Regions from separate parts of the Homo sapiens genome. Here region 2 is linked to region 1. The links are contacts of gene promoters, found by promoter capture Hi-C in human tissues and cell types (Jung and others, 2019). All regions are on one chromosome and are shown on one strand. The core of a region is centred on a gene start or on the middle of the fragment in contact, and the rest is flanking DNA. Distances in the headings are between cores, read along the strand shown. Region 1 holds the start of DNASE2B (deoxyribonuclease 2 beta). Region 2 has its middle 48 kb from the start of PRKACB.

Region 1 (2,774 bases), core at 180-2,679:
AGAAAATATATAAAACAAAATGAGAACAGGCACAGTGGTTCATGCCTGTAATCCCAGCACTTTGGGAGGCCGAGGTGGATGGATTCCCAGGCCGAGGTGGGTACACTCCAGCCTGGGCAACAAGAGCAAAACTTCATCTCAAAATAATAATAATAATAATACCAATGGAGGAATGGGTAAGAAAAATATTTCTTCATTTAACCTGCAGAAAGCTGTGAATCTACCAAATACAGCATAGTCTTGGCCTCAGGGCAGTGAGTTTCAAACTTTAGGGTACACCAGCATCACCAATAAGCTTATTAAAAATATAGATTCTTGAGCCCAACTGGAAGAATTCTGATGTAGCAGGTTTGGAATAAGTCCTAGAATTCTGCCTTTTTTGCAGGCACCACAGGTAATTGGGCAGGTGGTACAGAGTCCTCCTCCCAAAACTCTGTCTTAGGATAGAGACACAAGCCTTCCCCTTTTCTATGAATCCTGAGAATTGTGAACAGTTCTAGTGCAACCACAGAGGTAATCTGATTTACAAGGGTTCAGTTTGGTCTGGATCCTCTGATCTGGAACTATTATAGTTATCATTGTGATTATCAGAGAGACAGATTAGGGGCAGCATTATTTCCAGGCATGATGTAAACTGCTATTTATTATGATGGCAGCTTTAATAATTGATGCAAAAGTATGCATTAAAGAAATTATTTTCATATGTCTATCTACTCCTTCCCTGATTCACAAAGAAATTGGTCTCACCTTTTTATAGTTGTTATGGTAGTGGGCCATTTTATTTTGGTTTTCTACTTCAGATTCAGCTTCGAGAATGAGAAAGCATAGTTTGGGCAAAATAGATGTTTGTAACATTTTTTATTAACCTGAAGAGTGGGTGATCAATATGTTTACCTATTGCATAGCAGCCTGAAGCACCACATTGAGTGGCTAAAACCAGGAAGATGGAGAGAATATGTAAACATCTTTGGTAAAATACAGTTAAATTTACTGTTACTTTGAAGCAACCCTTTGAAGTATCCCTTAGCAACTGGTTCCTTAAGACAGAGATTATTAAGTGACAGATCCTAATTATTACTAAGACATAAGGTTTTATCATTTCTGTTTAATGTACGAACCACCTGCATTTGCTCTCATTCATTGAGTCAAACAGGAGAAGACATGAAATATATTTAACATCTACTTATTAAAATGAAGTCCCCCTGCCCAATGAATTTCATACAACAATGTTCACTCCAAAGAGTGAACTATCTTTCCCTATTTTTCTGCAGAACTTTTTGATGACTTTGCAAACCAGTCAACAATTCAGCACAAAGGCATCCAGAGTCACGCTGGCATGTTGTGACAGAATCGCACAATTACATGGGATCCATCCCACTCTGAAAATGCCCCGAACAGCGAACAGCACAGGTAAATCAAATCAAACGTCAGAGCCAGCACAGCCTGAGAGCGCCTTGAAACTCAGACTCCACAATCTATGGGGAAAGTGTCCTGCTGTGGCATGAAATAAATGAAACAGAAAATGATGGCAAGACTGCTAAGAACATCCTTTGCTTTGCTCTTCCTTGGCCTCTTTGGGGTGCTGGGGGCAGCAACAATTTCATGCAGAAATGAAGAAGGGAAAGCTGTGGACTGGTAGGTAAATGAAATGGAAGGACTGCTGCATGCAAACAGCCTCGGTACAGAGTTGGCCTGGCTCACTGCGAAGTTCCTAAGGGGAATGTCCATTCTCTTTCCTCCCTTTACAAATAAAGGAAGTTAAAGTGTGCAAATCGGCCAAACTCCCAGGCAGGGGTAGGCTTCTGAGTGACGGAGTTTCCCCCTGAAAAAGAGCTGAGCAGCCCCTCTTGGGCCTGATTCACTGTTCTCAGCGGGGCAAGGCTGGTAGCCACAGAAGTGGGATTGAGCTGACAGCTTCTGTGAGCTGGCAATTTCTTTTAATTACATCATGGCTTTTCCTAACAGAACACTTCCAACATCCTTTGAAAGACTGACAGAGTAAAGAAGGCAGATTATTTTTTTCTGAAAATGGAGCATGTGCTGCTCCTTATGAGAAAGAGAAGGGGGACCTGGTCACACACAGCACTGTTTGCCTAACATCGGTTTGTTTGGAAGCAGAGGCAGCTGTTGCCATGATTGGTACGTAGGCCACTGGCCTGTTGTACAGTGTCAAAGACATTAAATGCTGTGTTGCATTATAGTCATGGGTTCTCCTAAAGCTTTAACTACTTTTTCACCCTTTAATTGGGATATTTAGGTTTGCCATAATGGTTGGTGTCAAGCTTTTTGTGTAAACTTCAGGCTACAGAACACAGATATACTCAAGGCAGTAGTCAGTCTTTCCTCAGTTACTGAGCTCAACAGAGGTCTGTGTGGAGTTTTGAAAATATAAATATGAACGAAACATGGTTCCTACCCTCAAGGACCTCACAGTTATGTGGTAAGGGCATAGGTGGAACACTGGGGAACAGAGAGCCCAGAAAACTTCTCTAAGGATGTAATTTTTGAGCTAAGTTTTAAGAACAATTAAGAAGTAGCTGGAAAAAGAAGGGATGTGCAAGAGCATCTCAGGCCAATGAAGGAGCAATGAGGAGGTAGAGAGGCAAGAAGCAACATGGAAATTTGGGAGTTGCAAAGTAGTTTGGTATTGCTGGAACTTCAGGAGAATACAGGAAGATGACCGGAGGTGAGGTTAGAGAGGTGGGGACAGCCAAGGGGTCTGTGTGCTGAGCTACAAGGTTTGAACTTGACATTGAAAGGGAGCTATTGGAGGA
Region 2 (2,774 bases), core at 134-2,633, 300 kb before region 1:
CCTACAGAATTCAGTTAGTAACATGCAGTATAGGATTGTAGCCTAGGAGCAATAGGCTATCCATATAGCTTAGATATGTAGTAAGCTATACGATCTAGGTTTATGTAAGTGCACTCTATGATGTTCGTACAGTGACGAGATTGCCTAATGACACATTTCTCAGAATGTATCCCTGGCATTAAGTGACACATGACTGTATTTAACACTCCATCATGCATTATTATTATTGTTCAGGGCCCTCAATATTTATATTTATCCCATATTTGCTGTTTTTTTTTTTTTTGCGCTTATTCCTTCATGCATTCTCTGGTCTAAGTTACTTGTGCCATAAATAAGTCTTGTGTAAAGGTGTCCTAGTGATGAATTATGTCAGTTTTTATTTATCTGGATTTGTGTATTTTTTACCTTCACTTTTTCAGGATATATTTTATAAGTATGGAATTTTAGGTTGAGAATTACTTTCTTTGAACACTTTGAAGATGTTTCATCATGTTTTGTTTTCCATTGTTTTGTTGAGAAATCAGCTGTTAGTCTCAGTGTTGCTTTATGAAGGTAGTATATCTTTTTTTTTCTTTGGTTGCTTTGAGATTTTCTCTTTGCCTTTGGTTTTCAGCAGTTTCACAATATGCCTAGGTGATTTTATTCCCCCTACTTTCTGTTTGCAACTTTTTAGAATCATGGCTCAAAATGTTTCATTTATTTAAGACAGTTTTCAATAAGCATATCTTAATATGTTGCCTCTATCCCGTCTTTTCTTTCCTATTCTTCTGAGATACCAATTACATGTATATGTAAAATTTCTGATATATAATTTCAATTATTATATTTTTAATCTCTAGATTTTCCAGTTGATTTTTGAGTTTCTACTTGTAAATTTTTCTACTCATTTATATTTTTGTACAAATTAATCATAGCTATATTAAAGTTCATGTCTGAATTTACAATTTTTATTACCAGTGTGTTTTTCTATGGTATGTTTGTTCTCTTATTTTTGGTTATTTGGTCTTATCTTTTGGCATGCCTAGGAATCTTTAATTGAATGTATTTTGTATCATGTTATATTTCTTAAGAGAGGACTTATTTTGGCTGATGGTTAGAGTTGGGTCAGATTGTGTTGATCCATCAACAATTAAGATGACTTGTTGGCTGTTCTCAGTCTTTGTGAGGCTTGGTCTATTTCCTATTCTTACTCCTATCGATGGAGCCTTTCAGTGGTTTTGACTGAAGGCCTGGTGGTGTTTATCAGGGCCCTACCTCATGCTAGCCCTGAACTTCAATTTTTCTTTCCTCACTGTGAGATTACTGAAATATTTGCTTAGTTTTCTAATCTCCTAAAAAGGTGCTTCTCACTATCTGTTCTTTAGTGTCATGCCTTAGGTATCTTAAACATCTGAATGCTTCAAGAAGAAAAAGTAGTACAGAATGTTGGGATTTTTATTTCTGGTTTCTTGGCCCTAAAGTCTCTGAATTCCATTTTTTTCCCTTGTCAGCCAAGTGTAATGTTGAATATTTGAGCCTTAGCTTTTTGCATGTCCTTTCTACCAATTGAGGAAATGCCCTGAGGGCAAAAGCTGTAAAGAATCTTGATCTCTAATCATTTCCCATCTTTTCAGGACCTTGGTGTTCCTCAAAACCTGCTGACTCCTTTGCTAATACTTTCAAACAACTCTTACCCCATTTCTACCAATATTTATGTTATTTTAACAAGAGTTTTTTTTATATATCACTTTATTGAAGCAGAAATCCCTTGATAGTATTTTTTCTTTTTGTAAATCTGTGCAATGAATCATAGTATAAAGTGTGCACATTTTTAAGCTTATAGATTGAAGAGGGTTTACAAATGAATTCCTCATATAATCGTGACTAGATCAATATATGCAAATTAACAGCATTCTAGAAGGTTCCCTTGTCCCTCCAGAGTCAATAAGCATGCTTCCCTCAGATGTAACCACTATTCTTATTTCTGTCACCATATATTAGTTTCGCCTGTTTTTGAGCTTTACTTAAGTAGAATAACAATTATACTGTTTTATATCTGGGATTTTAATTTCAACATTGTTTGCAAAATTTAGTCCTGTTGCTGAAGGTAGGGTTCTTTACTTTTTGTTAATGTATAGTGTTCCATGGTGTGAATACACAATTTATTTTTTCTTTCTACATTTGATGGTAATTGGGTTGTTTTCCAGTTTGGGACTATTATGACTAGAACTTCTGTGAACATTGTTGACCATTTTTGTGCATTTTCATACACACCTATACTCATTTCTGTTAGGTATATACCTATAAATGGAATACTGTCATAAAGTATATGTATCTGTAGATACATTAGTAGATAGTATCTACATTAGTAGATACTATCAAACTGTTTTCGAAAGAGGTTATACCAATTTGCACTCACAGTAGCAGTGTAGGAGAGTTTCCATTGCCCCACATCTTCACCATCCTTGGTATTGACAGGTATTGTTTTGTTTTAGCCATTTTGGTGTGTGTATTAATAAGGGTTCTCCAGAGAAACAGAACCAATAGGAGGGGTGTGTGTGGGGAGAAAGATTATTTCTATAATAAATCTCCTCTTACATACATATATACTTATTATGGAAATTGACTCATGATTATGGAGGCTGATAAGTCATATAATCAAGTTGGGGAACCAGGAAACCTGGTGCTGTAACTTAGTCTAAGTCCAAAGACCTGAGGAAAGGGGAGAGAAAATGGTTTAAGTCCTGGGCTGAGTCTGAAGACCAAAGAACCAGGAGCACTGACGTCCAATAGCA

The links. The method cuts DNA at HindIII sites, captures the fragments that hold promoters and counts their contacts. A contact is called where the count stands out against the background at its distance.
Region 2: a fragment that was not itself captured here is called in contact with the fragment with the promoter of DNASE2B in region 1 in 2 of the 25 tissues and cell types used here (hippocampus and lymphoblastoid cells).

What each region holds. Positions count from the first base shown.
Region 1 is chr1:84,397,055-84,399,828 of GRCh38, forward strand. It overlaps DNASE2B (deoxyribonuclease 2 beta), which reads left to right and starts at 1,430. Exons shown (of 6, transcript NM_021233.3): 1 at 1,430-1,635. The coding sequence starts at 1,511. The HindIII fragment of the contact is 7,255 bases long and covers 1-2,774 here.
Region 2 is chr1:84,094,979-84,097,752 of GRCh38, forward strand. It overlaps a transcript of PRKACB not described here. Among named protein-coding and RNA genes, the nearest start is that of PRKACB, 48 kb to the right of the region's middle. The HindIII fragment of the contact is 5,327 bases long and covers 1-2,774 here.